Regions from separate parts of the Homo sapiens genome. Here regions 1, 2, 4 and 5 are each linked to region 3. The links are contacts of gene promoters, found by promoter capture Hi-C in blood cells and fetal thymus (Javierre and others, 2016). All regions are on one chromosome and are shown on one strand. The core of a region is centred on a gene start or on the middle of the fragment in contact, and the rest is flanking DNA. Distances in the headings are between cores, read along the strand shown.

What was found. Contacts are between HindIII fragments. The CHiCAGO score rates a contact against its expected background, and 5 or more counts as called.
Region 1: a fragment that was not itself captured here is called in contact with the fragment with the promoter of SLC9C1 in region 3 in 5 of 17 cell types (naive B cells, naive CD8 T cells, total B cells and 2 more); the score reaches 7.6 in naive B cells.
Region 2: a fragment that was not itself captured here is called in contact with the fragment with the promoter of SLC9C1 in region 3 in 2 of 17 cell types (naive B cells and M2 macrophages); the score reaches 6.6 in naive B cells.
Region 4: a fragment that was not itself captured here is called in contact with the fragment with the promoter of SLC9C1 in region 3 in 16 of 17 cell types (naive B cells, megakaryocytes, naive CD4 T cells and 13 more); the score reaches 21.7 in naive B cells.
Region 5: a fragment that was not itself captured here is called in contact with the fragment with the promoter of SLC9C1 in region 3 in 1 of 17 cell types (naive B cells); the score reaches 6.0 in naive B cells.

Annotation. Positions count from the first base shown.
Region 1 is chr3:112,493,630-112,498,529 of GRCh38, reverse strand. The region is part of intron 1 of BTLA (B and T lymphocyte associated); the gene reads left to right. Among named protein-coding and RNA genes, the nearest start is that of BTLA, 3.4 kb to the left of the region's middle. RefSeq lists an enhancer at 475-594. The HindIII fragment of the contact is 6,214 bases long and covers 62-4,900 here.
Region 2 is chr3:112,128,801-112,131,936 of GRCh38, reverse strand. GCSAM (germinal center associated signaling and motility) reads left to right here. Exons shown (of 6, transcript NM_152785.5): 2 at 1,424-1,492. It also overlaps a transcript of C3orf52 not described here. Among named protein-coding and RNA genes, the nearest start is that of GCSAM, 2.9 kb to the left of the region's middle. The HindIII fragment of the contact is 3,561 bases long and covers 106-3,136 here.
Region 3 is chr3:112,291,658-112,296,453 of GRCh38, reverse strand. It overlaps SLC9C1 (solute carrier family 9 member C1), which reads left to right and starts at 2,238. Exons shown (of 29, transcript NM_183061.3): 1 at 2,238-2,361. The HindIII fragment of the contact is 3,564 bases long and covers 1,375-4,796 here.
Region 4 is chr3:112,531,771-112,537,210 of GRCh38, reverse strand. ATG3 (autophagy related 3) reads left to right here. Exons shown (of 12, transcript NM_022488.5): 10 at 609-736; 11 at 2,874-2,942; 12 at 4,431-4,701. The coding sequence ends at 4,512. Among named protein-coding and RNA genes, the nearest start is that of ATG3, 27 kb to the left of the region's middle. The HindIII fragment of the contact is 6,531 bases long and covers 1-5,440 here.
Region 5 is chr3:112,144,109-112,149,251 of GRCh38, reverse strand. The region is part of intron 28 of SLC9C1 (solute carrier family 9 member C1); the gene reads left to right. Among named protein-coding and RNA genes, the nearest start is that of TBILA, 13 kb to the right of the region's middle. The HindIII fragment of the contact is 678 bases long and covers 1,035-1,712 here.

The sequences.
Region 1 (4,900 bases), core at 1,919-4,418, 200 kb before region 3:
TATTGCATAGGAACCCACATATTATCAAGAGGAAAAGCCTATGAGTGGCTCATCAGAAGCTTCTGATTTTTCAGGTTTTATTTTTTTATTTTTTTGAGACAAGAGTTTTGCTCTCGTCACCCAGGCTGGAGTGCAATGGCGTGATCCCGCCTCACTGCATCCTCTGCCTCCCGGGTTCAATCGATTCTTCTTCCTCCCGGGTTCAATTTATTCTCCTGCCTCAGCGTCCCTAGTAGCTGGGATTACAGGCACCTTCCACCACGCACAGCTAATTTTTGTATTTTTAGTAGAGATGTTGGATAACCCCAATTATCCAACATCTGTCCTACCCAACTGAGCACTGCAACACTCTACTGCACTCAGTTTGGGAAGAACGAGCTATCTATTCATCATCAGTGTGGCAGCCTGAGCATTTTCGCAAGAAGTAGTGATAGATTTGTACTTAACTATTTATAACATCTACTCAGTTCTCTTTTCTTGCCATCAACCTGTTTTTTAAGAAAGTCAGCCAAGCTATGGATGCAATGCATGTTGGGCAGGCTGGTCTGGAGCTCCTGACCTCAAGTGATCCACCTGCCTCAGCCTCCCAAAGTGCTAGGATTACAGGTATGAGCCACCATGCCCAGTGATTTTTCAGGTTTTAAATATTCTGTCTTATTATTCCCTACAAGCACACATTTATCAGTTTGGCTACTGCAATTTTAAATTAGAAAATCTGGCCACTGAGGTTCTATGGAAAGTCTATCTATAATTTTAAACTGTGTAGTTTGGAATATGTCTCTATGATGCCAGGATGCCACACAACCAAGTGCAAAGTAAAAAAGTCCTTAGTTACTCAAACATCTTTATGTTTGTAAGTATCTAGTATTAAGTCAACTAGGTGCTTAGATGGTTGACTGAATTTTCCACCTTCCATCAGATGCCTACAGTCACATAGCTACAACTGGAGTCAAATATTATTAAATAGATTTCTTCCCCATTTGAAGGATACATAAACTACTCTCTATGAAATTAAGAACAATGAGTTTCAGTGCTAAACCACATTGATGGTGGGGTAAGACCTTTATTTCTCCCAATGTGCAACCTAGCATTTGCAAAAGTGAACTTGGCTGTTAGAACTGGGTTAATTTACTGGCTCTGCCACTTACTGTATGGCATTGATTAAGTCTCTTCTCTTCTCTTTAGTTTCCTCATTTGTACAATACAGGTAATAATTGTACCTAAATTATGGGGCTGCTGTGAAGACTGTAGATGCAATAATATGGGTAAAGTGCCTCGCATAGTAAGTGCACGTATTTAAAGCTCAGTAAATGTTAGTGGTATTTTTCCTAAATTATTTTCACCATGCAACCTCTATGTAATTAAATGAGAATTATGTTTTAACATTATTATTTAAAATAGTTGAGTTTTTAAAGTTAAAAATAAAATAAATAAGTACAATATATTTTGCAATATATTTAGCCCAAAATATAGTGAATCAAATTATTCAGAAAATGAAATATGGCTGGGAGCCATGGCCCTAGCCTTTAGTCTCAGCACTTTGGGAAGCCAAGACGGGCAGATCACCTGAGGTCAGGAGTTTAAGACCAGACTGGTCAACATGGTGAAACCCCGTCTCTACTAAAAATATAAAAATTTGCTGGGTGTGTTGGGAGGTGCCTGTAGTCCCAGCTACTCGGGAGGCCGAGACAGGAGAATAGCTTGAACCCAGGAGGCAGAGGTTGCAGTGAGCTGAGATCACACCACTGCACTCAAAAAAAAAAGGGAAAGACTTGAGTGAAGTACTGGTCAGATATATACCAGTTGATATAATGGATTGCAGCAGCAGTTGCATTAAATTAAAGCTATAGGTTAAGAGAAGGAACATTTGGTGAAATTTGTTCTCCCAGGCAGAGCTGATGGCTCCATTTCTTAAAACCACATTAAATACCTTATATCTTGGGGATTTCCTGTGATTTACTTAATTGCTGAGTTCTTTACAGTAATACATTTTCAGTGTTTAAAGATAGCCTTTGAAGATTTTTTCCCCCTACTTCAAAGCAATGTGAGATCCGTGTCCTTGTTCCTAGGAGTGAGGCTGCATATATAATAAGGCTGGAAAAAATGTAATGTTCTCTACAAACTTCCTGTTTAAGGTCCTTCTTTATTACAAAAGTATGCTTGCTTACTTTTTGTGTTTCTCTAAAAAATTAGAGAAACTTGCCCCTCAGTGTGTGGCATACAGTTTCTGTCCTGATAGAAGTAATAAAAATGTCAATATCTTCCCTTCATGGGCAGATCATGCTGGCAAGATCTAGACTGCAAGTGGAAGTGTCTCTGTCCATTGCCTGCCCTGTCATCCTGGACCATTTGTCTGAGGCTGCCCTAGACCCTAGTTCAGTTGAGGATCAACCAAGGATTCCACTTTTAGGCAGGCAGGAACACTGCAGTTAATGTCTGGGTATCACCAACACCATATATGATGCAGAATAAAGGCAGTTGGAACTGTTTGATTGATTACTGGTTATTGTGATTTTTAAAAAAAGCAATCCTAGTCTGGTTCAGTAAGGGAAAGACACCTGTATTCTGGCTCTTTTGAGAATACAGTGGTTAGGGCTATGTCTCCATTTTGGTCTGGCTTGTGTCATTTTTTTCCCTTTATTATGATGGTCCAGTATGGTCCATGGACCAGCTTTTAAACACCGTGTTCCACATCCCACACAGATTGTTTTGCTCTACTACAAACTGGCCATATCTTTGGGTCAAAAAATATCATTCCTTGAAGTTCAGGTTTTGTAGCACAGTATCTTTATAAGGCATATTTCTATGGCTTCAGCTATTTGTTCTTATTGAAATGTGCATATGGAGGAATGCTAGAGATAGAGCTCTGTCTTCTGCCAAGTGCCTATGTATTGTTACAACAATGCCTGCCATATATTAAATAAATGTTTAGGAATGCATTCTGTGGTTACAGGACTTCTTGAATTAAAGCATGAAAAGATTAACCTTGTGCTCATTGCAGCCTTGAATATACTTTTCCTATCACAGAGAAGTTTTTAAATTTCTTGCTTCCTCTGTCCTACTACCAAAGTTTCCTCTATTGTAAAGTTGACGTCAAAACTATTTATCTTGCCTCATTGGGACTTTCCTACTTAATTTCCATTATTTGTGAGTTTCATCTTTATGTAGAGTTCAGAATTGTTAAAAGAAAAATATTTACAGGCATTTGTAATCAGGTCCAAAAAATAATCATTTTCTTTTTTCCTTGGAGAAGCTGTGTGGTATAGTGGCTAAGATCAGGGACTCTAAAGCCAGACTCCATGGATTAGTATCCTATGTCTGCCATTTAATGGTTTTGTGACTATAAAATCTCTGGTTCTCAGTTTTCTCATCTAAAAAAATGGGAGAATAATCTTATAAGGTTGTTGTGACTATTAAGTGAATTAATTCTGTAAAACACTTAGAATAGTGCATGGCATGCCATTCAGTGCTGTGTATATTTAGCTAATTTTTTTTCTTTTAGTCCAACATTTCATTAGTTTAATAGTCCTGTTAAAGTAACATTGGGTGACAATTGGGAATCAACCACAAATAAAAATTTGGAGTTCACAAAAGTCTTCTATAAATTACTCTTGATATTATTATCTACTCTTTTTTTTCTTTATTTCTTCTAAAAAAGGAAAACAGGATACATGTGCAGAAATGTACAGGTTTGTTACATAGGTATACGTGTGCCATGATGGTTTGCTTAACCTATTGACCCATCCTCTAAGTTCCCTCTCCTCTCCCCCTACTCCCCAACAGGCTCTGGTTTGTGTTATTCCCCTCTCTGTGTCCATATATTCTCATTTTCAACTTCCACTTATGAGTGAGAACATGCAGTGTTTGGTTTTCTGTTCCTGTGTTAGTTTGCTTAGGATGATGGCTTCCAGCTTCATCCATGTCCCTGCAAAGGGCATGATCTCATTCTTTTTTATGGCTGCATAGTATTCCACGGTGTATATGTACCATATTTTCTTTTTCCAGTCTATCATTGATGGGCATTTGGGTTGGTTCCGTGTCTTTGCTATTGTAAATAGTGCTGCAATAAACATACGTGTGCATGTGTCTTTATAGTAGAATGATTTATATTCCTTTGAGTATATACCCAGTAACGGGATTGCTGGGTCAAATGGTATTTCTGGTTCTAGATCGAGGAATTGCCATACTGTCTTCCACAATGGTTGAACTAATTTACACTCCCACCAACCGTGTAAAAGCATTCCTAATTCTCCACAGACTTGCCAGCACCTATTGTTTCCTGACTTTTTAATAATCACCATTCTGACTGGCGTGAGATGTTATCTCCTTGTGGTTTTGATTTACATTTCTCTGACCATCAGTGATGTTGAGCTTTTATTCTTATGTTTGTTGGTGGCATAAATGTCTTCTTTTTTTTTTTGAGATAGAGTGTCGCTCTGTCGCCCAGGCTGGAGTGCAGTGGCGCAATCTCCGCTCACTGCAAGCTCTGCCTCCCGGGCTCATGCCATTCTCCTAACTCAGCCTCCCGAGTAGCTGGGACTACAGGCGGCTGCCACCACGCCTGGCTAATTTTTTGTATTTTTAGTACAGAAGGTTTCACCGTGTTAGTCAGGATGGTCTTGATCTCCTGACCTCATGATCCACCTGTCTCGGCCTCCCAAAGTGCTGGGATTACAGGCGTGAGCCACCGCGCCCAGCCAGTGTCTTCTTTTGAGAAGTGTCTGTTTAGGCTGGGTGTAGTGGCTCTCGCCTGTAATCCCAGCACTTCAGGAAGCTGAGGAGGGCGGGTCATTTGAGGTCAGGAGTTCAAGAGCAGTCTGGCCAGCATAGTGAAACCCTGTCTGTACTAAAAATACAAAAATTAGCTGGGCGTGGTGGGACACGCCTGTAAGACCAGCTA
Region 2 (3,136 bases), core at 637-3,136, 160 kb after region 3:
TAAGAAAAAAAACCTTTTTCCAAGGTGCACACATCTTATGCTATTTGGACTTCTTATGGTTTTTTATTTATTTTAAAGAAAATTCGATTTTAAATCTAGAAAGCTTTTTGGTTTCTGCCATTGCATTCATGCTTAAAATTCTTTGCTCTTCCTAAGATAAGACAAATCAACTCACATAAGTTTTGATTTTGTTATTTTACATTTGGCAACATATATTCAATATATGGTGTCAGATGTAAATTTTTTTCCAAATAGTTGATCAGTTTGCCCAACATCTTTATTTCTATGATGATTTAAAAGGTCTCCCTTGAACCAAGTGCAGTGGCATGCACCTGTAGTCCCAGCTACTCAGGAGGCTGAGGCAGGAGGATTGCTTGAGCCCAGGAGTTTGAGGGCAGCCTGAACAACATAGCAAGACCCAGTCTTAAAAATAAATTCATTAAAATAATTAAATAAAATGTTTCCGTTAACGTATTCAAAAGTCTTGTATATATTGGTATCTAATTTTCATTGTCACCCCAACACCCAGTTATCATCTAGTCAGCATACCCCCCCAACCGTGTCTCTCCAGATCAAATAAGCTAAGAAGTCAGGGAAATTTTGCACAGAATAGAATGGCACTCATCCCTTCATGAGAGGAGCTCAGTCTCAGAGGAAGAGACCTGCCAGCAGCAAACCCAGCTTTTCCCCCTTAGTGGCTGTGGATCCTCAGACCAGTTGCCTAGCATTTTGGGCCTCAGTTTCCTCATTAGTATAAAAAATATAATGATAATATCTATCTTATGGATTTATTCTGGGATTAAATGAAATATAACACACAAAATGATTGGCATATAGTAAGTAGTGTTTAAGTGTTAGTTTCTTTATCCTCATACTCCCAATTCCCAACAAGTGGGAAGATGGGTATACAGAAATCTAACCCAAACAATGAACCAATTTATTTTCTTTATTCAATCCTTTTCTTCTCCTTCTGTCCCTTGTTCTGGGCCTCCATGCTTTCTGTGAAAGATGGTGTGATTTACACAAGACAAAGCCAGTACCTTTCCCCATTACTTGTGCATAGCTCCTGGAACTGCACCAAAGAGATGGTAGCTGAGGACCTCAGGCCTCTCTCTGGACACGGATACTCTCAAGGGTCATGACGAGGATCCCTGGATATTTGGGATCAGATGATTTAGGATCACTTGTTCATGGAGGTTGGAGAACATCAGTGGGCTGTTGCTGTGGCAATGGAGAGCATGTCAGATCAAAGGTAGCTTGCGACATGTGCTTGAGGAAACAGTATTAACATGTGTGAGGGCAACCAGTCAATTTCTGAGTTACACACAAATAGCAGAAATGAGGAAAGTCGGAAAAATTATGAAAAGAAGTGACAGGCCTGTTTAGGAAATACTTAGCCTGTTTCTGATATGTTGAGTTTCAGGCGGCAGCAGAACACTCAAGAGATGCCTTGGAATGTGAGAATGCAAAGCCCCAAACAGAGAACATCCAGGTGAGAGCAAAATCAACCAAACACCCCCCAGACCTTGCCCAAGGAGAACGAAGTATGTCAAGCCCTGGACTTCACATCCCAGTGAGAGAGGGCCCTGTTTAGACCAGTAGCAGTTGCAATAGTAACAAATGTGAAGACAGGACAAAAGATAAAATGCTTGAAAACTTTGGACAGGAGATATGCTACTTTGCTAGAAGCCTAATGTAACTCCTAGCAACAGGAACTAAGACCCTGCTAGTCCCTGTTATGCCCTGTTATAAAATAAAAGGTCTTATTTCCTGTTGTCATTTTGTTTGTCTATCTCAGGTACCTTTGTGCTCAACCTCCACCCTAGCCATTTTATTTTAAGCTATAGGTGTCTATTTCTGAAGTGACCACATGCCCCATGTTACGACAATTTTTAGAAAGTTTGTGGAGACACCATTGTGATTGCCCTGATGTTGTTAAACAAAGACCACCTCATTAATTCTTTTTGAACAGACCTTTCAAATGTCCAGCCCTAAAGAATTCTCTCTAAGGAAAGGAATAATTAAAATATGGAACTAATGTTCCAGGATCCAAGAATCCTAAGGGCTGACAAGGTCAGTTTTTCTGTGGCCTGTAAAGTTATCTGTGCTTTTCACATGGTTTCAGGAGGAGATTTTGAAAGAGGAGCAATTAAAAAACAAGCACTGTTGTTATTTTCTAACACCAATGCCCGCGTTAGGGGCTGGAGACCCAGAGATTCCTTTCAACAGGGTGAATTTTTTCAGTTCAAGTTGAGAATTACATATTTTCAGGGGTATCATTGGGCATATTTTAAGGCATACAGTTCAAATGATGAAATAAATCAGAAGGGCCACGGCATTATAACAAGGGAGAGGTTGGGTAGACCAGAGAGCCAGAGAAGGCATTGTGAAAGAGACAGATACCTCAAATTCCTGACACGTAGCCTAAGGGTATAGAGATTTGTCTAGCTTGCTTCTTGGAGGCTATCTGAACCCATCCCAAACCAAAACCACCATGTTGAAATGCAAGAATAAACTGCAGAAAAGTCAAGTAGGAGAAACAGCCAGCTTACAGATCGTTTTTGCCCATATTTAACCTCAGCTTATTCTTATAACTCCATGTGTAAGCAGTATATACATCCTCTTTTATAGATTTAAAAACTGTGGCCTCAGGAGTTCAGAGAATATCTCTCAAAATCATCCCCCTCCTCTTATCTCATTCATTTCTCCTCAGTGAATCTGGTTTGTTAACTTGGTGTGATTCAGTAGTTTTCTTACGATGTTTCCTTAGCAACAAAGCAGATAATGTAAGCAAACGGTCTGAAGCACATTGAAGGTAACCTAAAGAAGAGGAAGAGCTGCAGCTGTGCCTCTGGGCCCCAAAGGCTTTGATGATGCATAGATCTTAGAGGTTGTCAGAATGCTCAGCCAAGCAGGTGATCACAGCCAAGGTCACGATGCAGTCAGCCTCTCCTCCACTGCTCCTCCTGATGAAACTTCATGGGAAAGCTCACGGGGGGAGATATTTTTGGATGGTGTTTTCCAAACATTTTTACATACTGTAACTGATACTACTTTATAAAGGGCTTTCACATTCAACCATGTAGGTAGTTGACTATGCCTCAAATTCAGAAAAATGTACAGAATGATACTTATA
Region 3 (4,796 bases), core at 989-3,488:
TATTGTCCATTCTCATTCAAGTTGGGATCACCTTGGTTCTTGGTATGATGAGCGATTTTCAATTTCTATTTGGACATTGCAGATATTATAAGATACTGGATCTTATTTAAATCCTGGGTTTTACCAGGCATCCTCTGACACTGTTCTGGCAGGAGAAGTGGGGTCACCTCTTGTAGGCAAGTTGGAATAAAAGCTCAAGTTCTCTACTCAGTCTTCATTGACACACAGCCGAAGAAGGGGTGTCTTCTTACTGCTTAGGTAGGAGTGGGGCTTCAGGCTCTTCACTAGGTCTCTGATGATAGCCCCCTGGATGGGAAAGAGAAGGGTGTCCTATTACTGCTCCCTGCATGGTCTCCACTGATACCATGGGAGGTGGCTTATGCCTATAATCCCAGGACTTTGGGAGGCTGAGGAGAGGATGGCTTGAGGCCAGGAGTTTGAGACCAGCCTGGGCAACATAGCAAGACTCCATCTCTACAAAAAGAATTAAAAAATTAGGTGTGGTGACATGCCTGTAGAAGTATTCACCCAAATACTTGGGAGGTTCAGGTGTGAGGACTGCTTGAGCCCAGAAGTTTAAGGTAGCAGGGAGCTATGGTCATACCACTACCTTCCAGCCTGAGTGACAGAGTGAGATCCCATCTCTTGGAAAAAAAAGGTGAATGATTCTGGATTACAAGGATGTCCAGTGTGTGGTCATTAGAGTATATTGCTAAAGAGAAATATTAGACAACATTTACATTTCCTGTTTTATTTATATATATATATATATATATATATATATAAACTTAGCAAGACATATGTATATAAACAAATACATAATGTGGCAAATATTAGCTTTGCAACTTAATTAATTTTTAAATATATATCCACACATGAACCACAACCCACACACAGATATGTGGCATGTATTTCCAACAATGAGAATCCTTTTTTTTTTTTTTTGAAACGGTGTCTCACCCTGTCTCCCAGGCTGGAGTGCAGTGGCGCAATCTCGGCTCACTGCAACCTCCATCTCCCGGGTTCAAGTGATTCTCCTTTCTTAGCCTCCCGGAGCTAGGACTATAGGCGCCTGCCACCATGCCCGGCTAATTTTTGTATTTTTAGTAGAGACGGGGTTTCACCTTGTTGGTCAGGCTGGTCTCGAACTCCTGACCTCAGGTGATCCACCTGCCTCGGCCTCCCAAAGTGCTGGGATTACAGGCATGAGCCACTGCACCTGGCCGAGAATAGATTTTTTAAAGACCCAAGAAAAGGGGCAGCCCAGCAAGACAGAAAATTTCACCAGTAACTGCTCTACTTTAACCAAACACCACAGAAAAGTGTTCACCCACTCCCTGTACCCACATACCAGCAAAGACTGAGTAGGAAGCTTAAACTTCACCCATACCATACAAGATGCCAGAACCCTGCCTGTTTCCCCACCCCAACCAGAGCAGTATCAGAAAAGGCCTTGTGGGAGCTGGAACTTCCATAACAACCAGGCCATAAAGATGCACCCCATGCCTCAGTTGGAGACCATGTAGGGAGCCTGGACTTCTGCTCCAACCCAGCCAAACAAGTTGCCTCCTGCCTTCTTCATCAGGGTAGTATCAGAGGAGGCCAAATGAAGAGTTGGGAATTTTACCACCATTCACTTATAAACGTGTGGGTCGGGAGAAAGAGATGAAACACAGAGAACAAAACATTAAATACAATTTTAAATAACTTTAAGATATTTTATGAGAGTAGGAATGTGAAAAGTTGGCTCTATAGTAATAACTAAGTAATTTCAATTAAAATATTTTTTACATATTATGTTTAGAAAAAACAAATGAGTATATCATTATTCCTGAAAATTTCCTCACATATAACCCAGAGTGAAAGTTCACCTTGTCATCTTGATTTCATTCTCTTACATGCCCACAATATCCATTCACTTTTTCCCTAACCCAGCAACCTGCGTCCTCATATCTCTACCACACTATCTTATCCAGGAAACTTCCTTTTACTAGAATTCTGGGAAAGCAGTGTCCAACAGCTCTTTGTCAGAAATCCACTGTCCCAAAGTCTTAAATTAACACAATGGCGCAATTTCTGTAGGTTCATTTTCACCCCTTATTTGTTTATTTTTAAAAAATAAAACAAAGCCTTAAGCCGTCAAATGCCTGAGATATACAGGAGCAATGACGTTGCATTTCATCAGCCAATCAAGTAAGAGATGATGGGCCTGAAGCTAACCGGTGCAGACTAGGGGCGAGTTTGGAGCAAGTAACTGTCAGTGAGGTTGCAGTTGGTCTGGGCTGTTTGGCTGTGAGCGAAATAGCTGCCCCCCACTTCTCACTTGCACACCACGGGATACTCCTCCTGAGGCTCCGGATGGTGAGCTCTCCAGTCTCTAGTTTCCTTTTCTGGAAGTTGACCTTTCCTACTGGTACTTTCTCTCTCAGTCTCGCCTCCTAGATGAACAAAGGCTCCCACTGTTTTCCTGCTAGAGATTCAGCCACTCCCTCTTGGCGCTTCTGCCTTTCTTGTGGCAGACCATGGAACACTTTCCCAAAGATCAGCTAGCTTCTCGGTTTGAACTTCTACCCCTTAGCTGCTTCCCCTCCTCCATTATGCTTTTTACATCAACTCTTTGTGAACTATCCAGTGGCATGTGTTCCCTTTGCGTTACTGAAACTGAAAAGTCCAGCCCTAGGGGAAAGCTCACTGGTTCAGGGAATCGCCTCAGGTGTGTGGAGCTGATCTTGAGCTGGAGGAAGGGCTCATTCTGAGTGGAGGGGCATTAGGAGGGCAATAGCCCACCCACCTTCAGAGTCAGTAAGATGTCTGCGTTGTGTGGTAGGAGAGTTTACTAAGGAGACAATCCAGCCTCTGGTATCAATATAAAATAAACCATTAAGCATGAGCTTTGTAGCTGTGAAGATTACTGAGATCCCACAGTGCCCTCTTCAGGATGCTTTCTTCACCTAATTCTTGCAAAACGTTCCAATCTGAAGGAAGAAGACTGTTTCCATGTTCAGTAACATGGTAAATTAGTGTGACTTACGGTTCATGAGACAAAATTTCTCAATGCTGGCTGACTGACAAGGACAAATTCATGTCATTTTTGAGAGGGCAGTCATTAATTTCCTCCACACACAAAGAGAATTGAGATATTAGCTAACATGAGAGATATATATATATATATATATTTGAAATAGAGTCTCACTCTGTCACCCAAGCTGGAGTGCAGTGGCACAATCTAGGCTCACTGCAATCTCTGCCTCTTCAATTGATTCTCCTGTCTCAGCCTCCCAAGTAGTTGGGATTACAGGCATGTGCCACCACACCTGGCTAATTTTTTTTTTTTTTTTTTTGTATTTTTAGTAGAGACAGTTTCACTATTTTGGCCAGGCTAGTCTCGAACTCCTGATCTCAAGTGATCCACCCGCCTAGGCCTCCCAAAGTGCTGGGATTACAGGCGTGAGCCACTGTGCTCAGTCAACTAACTTATTGTTAAATTAATGCAGAGGACCTATGTGATAAACCAATATTTTTTTCTTTAATGGGATTTGGACTCACAGACTTTTACAAAGCTGTCAAAAGTCAGCTTAAGATGAAGAGTTCTAATTATATTGAAAACCTGTGGCCGGGCGTGGTGGCTCACGCCTGTAATCCCAGCACTTTGGGAGGCCGAGGCGGGCAGATCACAAGGTCAGGAGATCGAGACCATCCTGGCTAACACAGTGAAACCCCGTCTCTACTAAAAATACAAAAAATTAGCCGGGCGTGGTGGCTGGCGCCTGTAGTCCCAGCTACTCGGGAGGCTGAGGCAGGAGAATGGTGTGAACCCGGGAGGCAGAGCTTGCAGTGAGCCGAGATCGCACCACTGCACTCCAGCCTGGGCGACAGATCATGACTCCGTCTCAAAAAACAAAAAAAAGAAAACCTGTTTATTCTCATAGCTATTTCCTTACCCATACATTTAACATATTAAGCTACAGTAATGTTAGTATTTTTAAAACTATTTTAAGATGACATCTATTCTCAAATAGAGATTTCTTATGAGATTTTGGAGTAGAGGTTGGGGAAGCCAAATGGTATTTATCACATATGCATAGCCAGAGAGATAAATTGTGTTGAATTTGATCATATATATCTCTGAATTTAAGAGTAAACAGGATTCGTGGTAATTTTATTATTATTAATGTGATTATAATTTAACTTTCATGTTCTGGGATACATGTGCAGGTTTGTTATATGGGTAAATTCATGTCATGGAGATTTGTTGTACAAATTATTTAATCACCCAGCTATTAAGCCTGGCACCCATTAGTTATTTTTCCTGATCCTCTCTCTCCTCCCACCATCTACCCTCAAGTAGGCCCCAGTGTATTCCCCTCTATGTGTCCACGTGTTCTGAATATTTAGCTTCCACTTATAAGTGAGAACATGCAGTATTTGGTTTTCTGTTCCTGCATTAGTTTGCTAAGAATAGTGGCTTCCAGCTCCATCCATGTTCCTACAAAGGACATGATCTCATTCTTTTTTATGGCTGCATAGTATTTCATGGTGTATATGTGCCACATTTAGTTTATCTAGTCTACCATTGATGGGCATTTGGGTTGATTCTATGACTTTGCTTTTGTGAACAGTACTGCAATGAATGTACGCATGCATATGTCTTTATGATAGAACAGTTTACATTTCTTTGTGTTTATACCCCGTAATGGGATTGCTGGGTCAAATGTTAGATCTGTTTTTAGGTCTTTGAGGAATCACCACACTGTTTTCCACAGTGGTTGAACTAATTTACATTCCCACCAACAGTG
Region 4 (5,440 bases), core at 1,370-3,869, 240 kb before region 3:
AAGTTATAAAATGTTTTGATAGCCACAAACTTGTCTTTTTGTGAGATTTTTTTTCTGCATTGGGGGTAGCTGTCACAGAGCTTGGCTGTGACTCCTTCCTGTCCCTCCCTTGATATTAATAAATTGTAAAATTTCCCAGAAATCATTCTAAACAGTCTAGAATTCTAAATTGCAAGTGATGTGAGATGGAGAACTAAATATATTATAAACCTTGAGATTTAGGCTGAAAGTTTCTAAATAGTAATTTCTTTTTTTTTTTTTTTTTTTTTTTTTTTTTTTTTTTTTTTTTTGAGATGGAGTCTCGCTCTGTCGCCCAGGCTGGAGTGCAGTGGCGCAATCTCAGCTCATTGCAAGCTCTGCCTCCCGGGTTTACGCCATTCTCCTGCCTCAGCCTCCTGAGTAGCTGGGACCACAGGCGCCCACCACCCTGCCCGGCTAATTTTTTATATTCTTAGTAGAGACGGTGTTTCACCATGTTAGCCAGGATGGTCTCGATCTCCTGACCATGTGATCCGCCCACCTCAGTCTCCCACAGTGCTGGGATTACAGGCGTGAGCCACTGCACCCGGCCTTAAATAGTAATTTCAAAGCATTTTTTATGCTTTCAGCAACGGCAGCCTTTAACAGTTGAGCACATGTATGAAGACATCAGTCAGGATCATGTGAAGAAAACAGTGACCATTGAAAATCACCCTCATCTGCCACCACCTCCCATGTGTTCAGTTCACCCATGCAGGTCTGTATATGTAGAGATAAATATATTTTTTGATGTGATTGTATATTTCATGGATTTATTACTTGAGAATCTTTAAACATAGAACCCTAACAGAAAAAAATTTTCTTACTAAAAAGTAAAATTCTCTCTTGTCCTCCTTAGAAATTTTCTTGTGCTTAAATATATAAGAAAAAGGAAAAAAAACTTACCAATTTGTTTTAAGTTTAATATGTTAAGAATTTTTTTGTTCTCTGTGGGTGTTTATAGAATAGATGGATCTTTGTGATTTTACTACACTTTTTAGCTTCCAGAACAGTTTGGAAGATTCTGTTTTTGACTCAGAAATAGTCATTTAGATATGGTTTGCTGTGTTGTGACTGCCTTTCTGTGAATGTAGACTGTGGAGTTAACCTTGTGATTTTTCTAGGTGACCTATTTGCTTTCTTTTATTGATTAGTGAAGGGAGATATATGGATGTATGTTCTTCAGTTGAGAGCTTGTCAGCCTTAGCAAGTCAAGTGCATTTTATAAGTTGGGATTTTCTTTGTATCAGTGTTTTTTCACAGAGCCAAATCTGTGAAGCTGAACCTATATACATGATTAGTTCAGAATTTTTCTTAAAAAACAGTTACTACATGCCAATTTCTTTAGGTTGGTTATTTCTAATAGATAACTTTCCCAGTTGACTGGAAAATACTGGTAACATACTAGTAACAATATTTTTCAGTGAAACTCATATTCTGTTGACTAGTTAGATGAAACATTTTGTTTTCTCTTCCCTCTAGTTAAAAACAACCTTTAATATTTTCTTCTCATATTCTGCAACCTCTTTACTCTCAAACTTTAACTCCGTGGAAGACCTTGCTCATTTTTTCAGTTTTATTATGTCTGAAACTTTGCTAACTATGAAAAATAATTTAGGAGCCATTAGTTTTAGTTTTGAATTATGTAATCTAAAAAGTTTTCAGTTTTTAGAGTTATTCTCTTGATTCCTCTTATGGTTTAAGGTCTTAGGATGGTGCTTATCAAACTGAAGCGTATCTCTCTGAGGTATAAACTTTACTCAGTTGGGGGAAAAATAACTGGTAATTATGTTAAACATTTTAATAAAATAGATGACTGTATTGTGGAATGGGATATAAGTATTTCAAAAAATCTGAGTGCCTATAAAATAAAACTTCAAGGACATTTTAGACCATTCCATGGGCTGCCTCAGATTGTGCCTTCAAATCCTCTGGAATCATACATTTACTCTCATATTCTAAGTTGACTGTCTCTGTCATGAAGATTATAGTCGTAAAAACTGAAGCAGCATTATTTAAGCCAAGGTATGTTAAAAAGACTGTTTCTTTAAAAATTATCTTTTTCTTGGTTTCTGTGCCTAGATACTAACTTTGATATCACTCTTTTCTATAGTACAGGAGAGAGAACAGTTAGCCATGAAAAGATGTATAGATAGGACAAAAACTTCATATAAATAAATACCTTTCTTCTTATAAGCCAAAAAATTTATTTTTACATAGAATTGGATAAATTTTAGAATACCTATTAGGACAAAGAAACAAATACAAACCTCTCAACTCTAACCAATTAGCTTTTCTTAAACCCTCTCAGTTTTGGCTTATTCTCAGCTAAATAAACAGCCCAGATCACAAGATTATAGATACCTCTTTGCTTTTTTGTCCAACTGATACCATGTGTCTTTTTTTTTTTTTTTTTAATTTGCCTGATATGACTCTTGTTTCTTAGAGCAAACAGCTATCATTCCACATTTTCTCCTGGAATGATTTCCTCATCTCTGGTTTTCTGCCTTCCTTGTCTCTCCCAATTATCAGAACACTAACTAATGCCATGGTGTCTGCTGTGACTACCATAGCTTTTTAAGATTATGCCCTCCCCTGGTAAAACTGTTGGCATGGCATAACAATCTGTTATCTTTTGTGTTTCGGAAGTGGAGGGGAGATATTTTATAATTTAACTATTTTAATAAATATTTTATAGTTATTGGGGAGTGGTGGGGGAGATAGTTTATAATATAACTATTAAAAATTAATTCACTGAGAGTAATAGGGTCGATTTCTTTACAAATGAAAATATGTTTTTCTTCTTTCGGTCTAATCGATCTACATTAACAATTTTTTTTTTTTTTGGCTTCTAGGCATGCTGAGGTGATGAAGAAAATCATTGAGACTGTTGCAGAAGGAGGGGGAGAACTTGGAGTTCATATGTATCCTTCCCTGTATGTAAGATTAGTGGCAAAATGGCTGTTAACGATTTTTTTTTTGAGAAATTTAGTGTAACCTTAATGATACAGTAGCTATAACTTGTTTTAACTTCTCATCTGAAAATCCTAGTAGAAGTCTTTCATTTATTTAGAAAATGTTATATTGTGATAGTTATGCCTTGCTTAGTTGATTAGAACATGTCCCCATGTGTAGCAGTAGCTCACCCTTGTTACAGAGGTAACTACTAATTTAGAATAATAATATGAGTATCTTTTTCTTATGTACATTTCCAGTTTAACATGTTACCAAAAATGTACTTTCCCATCAGGTAAAAGTAAAATTAGGTTGTGTCAATCTGAGGTGTCTCTGAAGCAAATAATTCAGCTTAAACAAATACGTTAATTAAAAGTAATGTACTACGTGAAGTGCTTTAGATATTCTTAAAATATAGTACGTTCATTTTTCTCAAGACAGTAGCACCTTTCTTGTATCTTACTATAGTTTTCCTACTCAGTTTTCTTGGATTGACAAAAGTAATACATTCAAGTTAATGCCCAAGCAAACTGTTGGATCCTAAAGTACATGTACTCATAGCATAGATTTATCAAAAACAGTCAAAATCAATGATTTACATGCCAGATAGCTTGAATTAGTTTGATGCTAGGTTAATACTTGACTTGGTGGTGGTTTCGGCTACTATGTGTTAGATTAGATGTGGAGACTAAGATGCCACGTCTAATCAGACTGTGGGGCATTGCTAATAAAGTGTGTCCCTAAGAAGAACTTTGAACTGATTTGATATTGAAACAAACCAAAAACTTCCAGTCCAAACCATATTTACTCCTGAAGTCCTATTATGCCTAACTGGCACATCTCTGCTGGATGCTAGGTAGCAACTTGGAAGACTGTCTATATATAATTCATAATAGTAATTGGTTTCCCCCAATGAAAAGTAAGCTCCTAATGTTTTTAAGTGCAATGAACATAAAAAAATTTCAGAATTTAATTAAAGACAGTCCAGTAGAGCTCAGTCTTTGGCAAATACATACACTAACCTAGAATCAGTCTACTATACAGGATTTTTATTTAATTTTTTTCTCTTTTGCTATAGTACTTCATTATAGTCTATTCTGCCTCATTTTCTGACATAACTCTAGCAAACTTAAAGGAGTCTAGTAAATGAGTACATTTTGTACTCATTTAAACATGTATAGCTTTGTCCTTTTTATGTCAAAGTAATTGTGCTTATATGAACACCTACTCATTAAGAAGTTTCAAATTCAATAATCGAATGAGTGGTCAGGTAGTCTTAAAGAGCCTCATGTTAAATAGACACAAATTTGCATAGTTGAATTCTTTAATAGACTTAATTTAAGATTTTGTGGGGTTTTTTTGAGAAATTAATGGCTTAATAAAATGGATAATTACAACATGGGCTTAAAACATAGAACTATTTACAAATCTTATTTTCCTTAGCTAAAAACCTTTAGGTATCTTCTTATTTTCTTGAAATTTGTACAAGCTGTCATTCCAACAATAGAATATGACTACACAAGACACTTCACAATGTAATGAAGAGAGCATAAAATCTATCCTAATTATTGGTTCTGATTTTTAAAGAATTAACCCATAGATGTGACCATTGACCATATTCATCAATATATACAGTTTCTCTAATAAGGGACTTATATGTTTATGCATTAAATAAAAATATGTTCCACTACCAGCCTTACTTGTTTAATAAAAATCAGTGCAAAGAGAGTTTTTCTTGTGTCTTATTAAAAGGTTATGATTTGATTTCCCCTAAGTAACAATAAGTGAAGACATCTGTCTTATATAGAATGATGACAGATTATTTTTGGTTTACATTTATGAGGAAGGTATTAAGTGTGTAATAGTCTCAAAACTAGGATTAGAAAATACTGTGTGCTAGTTTTCTCTCACCTTTTCCTGTTCTGCTAATAGTTAATATTTATGAAGCGCTTACTGTGTGCCATGAACTCTTTAAGTACTATTGTTTCCTAATTGTAGTGTTAAGTTGATATTGATATCACCAAAATTATTTTTTATTAAGGATTCGGGAATATTTATTGTGGTTGCCTGGTAGAATACTAGAATTTAAAGGGATAATAAGTTTATTCTGTCATGTCAGTTTATAGATCTTGGTATAGGAGTTTAGAAAGGCAAGTTTTCTGCTCTAGGATGCATACTGCAAGCCAAGGAGGAAAACCTAAGCCCTTTATTCCCTTTATACCACTACATGCTTCATCTTTGTTCTTTCAGTAGTCTGCACAAAGTGGAATGGCTAATCTTGTCCATAGTTTTGTTTTATTTTCTCCTCATCATTTAAGAATACCCTCCTTGCTTTCTTTATTTTCCTCCCTTTTCCAATCAATTATTGTATTGCAAGAAAATCTCCATAATGAAGATAATGATTTGGAGGTATTGTGTGTTTGATATGGTATAATATGGAGATAATAAACATGGACATCATCCTCTA
Region 5 (5,143 bases), core at 124-2,623, 150 kb after region 3:
GGGACTCTCTGCTCCATGACCAGGCAGATCTCCAGGCATTCAGACTATGCACTCACTGGATCAGCAGCCTGACCCAACTGCTCCCCCCACTTCCTGTGCAGAGATTTTGGTACAGGGGGACCTTCTCTGCTCCACGCTCACACAGATCTCCAAGCATTCAGAGCACCTGCTTCCTTGGGCCAGCAGCCTGAGTCACCCTACCCCTCCTGTGCAGAGATCTTGGTGCAGGGGGGCCATCTCTGCTCCACACACAAGCAGATCTCAGGCATCTGAAGCACCCACTCTTCTAGATTAGGAGCTTAGGCTGCCCCCATCCCTGTGCAGAGAACTCAGAGCCAAGGTTTCCCAACTCCATGCCCAGGCACACCAGTGAGTACCTGGTGGACACTCACTGGATTCTCTATTGGCACTGGTGCTTGTGCCTGCTATCAAGAGACCTGCAGACAGACCTGCCCAGTCAAGACACACCCTTTTTGGCTCCTACTCCCCATCCCCTCAAGGCTGAGCAGGGAGCTCAGACCACTGTGCATATTAGGAATTAGCCCATTGCCTAAAACAATAGTTTCTGCCAGTAAACACGGGTCAAGTATATACCTAAACACATTGGCTACAGCCAGCTCTTACTGTAAGTACCATCTACAGGCTTGTACGATGAACTGCACAGCCCAATATAAAACCTGCCAAAAGTTTTATTAAGACATAGAGCTACAGTAGCAAAGCCAAAACAGCATTCTCTATGGTCATACCCCCTAGGGAGTGGGGGAAAAGGGAAGGGAAAAAATAAAATATAAACAAATAATAATATTATTAAAGGGAAAAAGGAAAATTCTACTCACATGAAAAGAATTACAAAAATTAGAAGTGCCAGTGTCTCCAGATGAGAAGGAACCCATGCAAGAATTCTGGCACCATGAAAAATCTAAATGTAGTAACACCACTAAAGGATTTCACTAGCTCTCCAGCAATGGTCCCTAACCAAAATGTAAACTCAGAGATACAGATAAGGAAGTCAAAGCATGGATTATAAGGAAGCTTAATGAGATCCAAGATGAAGCTGGAAATCAACACAAAGAAACCTTAAAACAATCCAGGAAATGAAAGAAGAGATAAACACCTTAAAAAGAAATCAATCAGGGCTTCTGGAATTGGAAAACTCACCTAAAAAAATTGAAAATACAATTGAAAATGTTATCAATAGACTAAACCAAAGAGAAAAATGAATTTCAGAGCTTGAAGACCACTCTTTTGAACTAACCCTGTCTGCCTGAAATAAAGTTTAAAAGAATTTTAAAAATGAGCAAAGTCTTTGAGAAATATGGGATTATATAAAGAAATCAAACTTATGAATTATTGGCATTCCCTAGAGAAGGAGAAAAGTCAAACAACCTATAGAATATATTTCAGGAAATAATTCAAGAAAACTTCTTTAATCTTGCTAGAGATGTAGACATCCAGATACAAAAACCTAGAGACAATATACAAAATGAACGTCCCCAACACATATAGTCACCAGACTGTCCAGGGTCAGTGCCAAAGAAAAAATTTTAAAGTCAGCGAAATAGGGTAGATAACATACAATGGGAACTCCATGAGGCTAACAGCAGATTTCTCACCAGAAACCTTACAAGCCAGGAGAGACTGGGGATCTATATTCATCTTTCTGAAAGAAAGAAAATTCCAACCAAGAATTTCATATCCTGCCAAACTAAGCTTTATAAGCAAAGGAAAATTAACTTTCCAGACAAGAAAGTGCTAAGGGAATTCATTACCATGAGACCATCCTTACAAGAGACTGTTAAGAGAGTTCTAAACAAGGAAAGAAAAGAATGGCAACTGCTACCACAAAAACTCACCCATGTACATACCTTGCAGGCCATATAAAACAAAAACACAACAGAAACTGCACAATACACAGCTAACAACTTCACAATAGGATCAAAATTACATATCAATATGAATCTTGAATGTAAATGGTGTAAACACCCCCACGTAAAAGGCATAGAGGGGCAAGTTGAATTTAAAAAACAAGACCTATCCTTCAAGAAACGCATCTCACACATAATGACACCAATGAGCTCAAAGTAAAGGGCTGGAGAAAGATCTACCATGCAAATGGAAAACAAAAAAGAGCAGGGGTCACTATTTTTATATCAGATAAAACAGACTTTAAATAGGAAACAGTAAAAAAGACAAAGAAATGCATTATGTAATGATAAAGGGTTCAATGTAAAAAGAAGACTTAATCATCCTAAATTTATATGCACCCAATATTGGAGCACCTAGGTTCATAAAACACATACTTCTAGGTGTATGAAAAGGCTTAGATAGTCATACAATACTAGTGAGGGACTTTAACTCCCCACTGATAGTATTAGACAGATTGAGACAGAAAAGTAACAAAGAAATTCTGGACTTTAACTCAACACTTGGACCTAATAGACATCTACAGAATACGCCACCCATCAACCACAATGTATATTATTCTCATCCGCACACAAAAAATATTCCAAGATTGACCACATGCTCAGCCATAAAGCAAGTCTCAATCAATTCAAAAGAATCAAAATCATACCAACCATATTCTTGGACAACAGTGGAATAAAAATAGAAATGAATACCAAGAAGATCTCTCAAAACCACACAATTACATGGAAATTAAACAATTGACTTCTGAATGATGTTTGAGTAAACAATTAAATCAAGGCAAAAATCAAAAACAACTTTGAAATAAATGAAAGAGACACAACATACCAAAGTCTCTGGGATACAGCAAAACCAGTGTTAAGCATAAAGTTTATAACACTAAATGCCTACCTCAAAAGTTAGAAAGATCTCAAATTAACAATCTAATTTCACCCCTTAGGAACTAGAAAAACAAGAACAAATGAGCTACAAAGCTAGCAGAAGAAAAGAAATAACTAAAATCAGAAAAGAACTGAACAAAATTAAGACATAAAAGTCCACACAAAGAATCAATGGAAATAAAGTTGGTTTTTTGAAAGGATAAACAACATCAGTAGATCACTAGCTAGATTAAAAAAAAAAAGAAAGCTCCAAATACACACAATCAGAAATGACAAAGGTGACGTTATAACCAATCCCACAGAAATACAAAAGATCCTTGGAGACTGTTATGAACACCTCTACATACACAAACTAGAAAATGTAGAAGAAATGGTGTATCAGTCCGTTTTTCTGCTGCTGATAAAGACATACTTGAGACTGGGCAATTTACATAAGAAAGAGGTTTACTGGATTTACAGTTCCACGTGGCTGCGGAGGCCTCACAATCGTGGCAGAAGGTGAAAGACACATCTCATATAGTGGCAGACAAGAGAAGACAGCTTGGGCAGGGAAACTCCCCCTTATATAATCATCAGATCTCGTGAGACTTATTCACTATCATGAGAACAACACAGGAAAGACTTGCCCCCACGATTCATTTATCTGCCTTCGGGTCTCTCCCACAACATGTGGGAATTTAAGATGAGATTTGGGTGGAAACACAGCCAAACCATATCAAATAGGTAAATTTCTGGGACCACACAATCTCCCAAGATTGAATCAGGAAGAAATTGAAAAACTGAACAGACCAATATCAGGTTCCAAAATTGAATCCATAAAAAAGAACCTACCAACCAAAAAAAAAAAAAAAAAAAAAAGCCAAGGGCAGGTGGATTCACAGCCAAATTCTACCAGATATACAAAGAAGAGCTAGTACTAATTCTACTGAAACTATTTCAAAAAATCAATGAGAAGGAACTCCTCACTAACTCATTCTACAAAGCCAGCATCACCCTGATATCAAAACCTGGCAAAACACAATGAAAAAAGACAACTACAGGCCAATATTCCCAATCAACATAGATGTGAAAATCCTCAACAAAATTTTAGCAAATTAAATCCAGCAGCACATCAGAAAGTTAATATACCACGATCAAGTAGGCTTTATTTCTGGGATGCAAGACTGGTTCAACATCCAGCAAATCAATAACTGTGGTTCACCACATAAACAGAATCAAAAACAAAACCATATGATCATCTCCATAGACATAGAGAAAGCTTTTGATAAGATCCAACATCCCTTCATGATAAAAAGCCTCAACAGACTAGGCACTGAAGGGACACACCTCAAAATAATAGGAGCCATCAAGCTCCTATTATTTTTGGGACAAGCCCACAGCCAACATCATACTGAATAGGCAAAAGCTGGAACCATTCCCTTTGAGAACTGGAACAAGAAAAGGATGTCCACTCCCACTACTCCTATTCAACATAATACTAGAAATGCTAGCCAAAGCAATTAGGCAAAAGAAAGAAATAAAGTCATCCAAAAAAGAAAAAGAAGTCAAACTATCTCTCTTTACAGACAATATGATTTTATATTTAAAAAACCCTAAGGACTCTACCAAAAGGCTTCTGGAGGTGACAAACAACTTCAGCAAAGTTTCAGGATGCAGAATCAATGTACAAAAATCAGTAGCATTTCCATACACCAATGTTCAAGCTGAGAGCCAAGTCAAGAACACACTCCCATTTACAATATATACACACACACACAAACCTTAGGAATACATGCAACCAAGGAGGTAAAAGATTTCTATAAGGAGAATGACAAAATACTGCTGAAAGAAATCACAGATGACATAAACAAATGGAGAAACATTCCATGCTTGTGGATTAGAAGAATCAATATTGTTAAAATGGCCATACTGCCCAAAACAATCTACAGATTCAACACTATTCTTATTGAATTACCAATATAATTTTTCACAGAATTAGAAAAAAAATGGCCGGGTGTGGTGGCTCACACCTGTAATTCCAGCACTTTAGGACGCCAAGGTCAGGAGTTTGGGACCAGCCTGGCCAACATGGTGAAACCCCGTCTCTACTAAAAATACAAAAAAATAGCTGGGCTTGATGGTGGGTACCTGTAATCCCAGCTACTCAAGAGGCTGAGGCAGGAGAATTGCTTGAACCCAGGAGGCGGAGGTTGCAGTGAGCCAAGATCACACCATTGCACTCCAGCCCGGGCGACAGTGCGAGACTCTGTCTCAAAAAAAAAAAAAAAAAAAAAGCCAGGGCATCACAATACTATAAGGCATAGTAATCAAAGCAGCATGGTACTGGTACAAAAACAGAC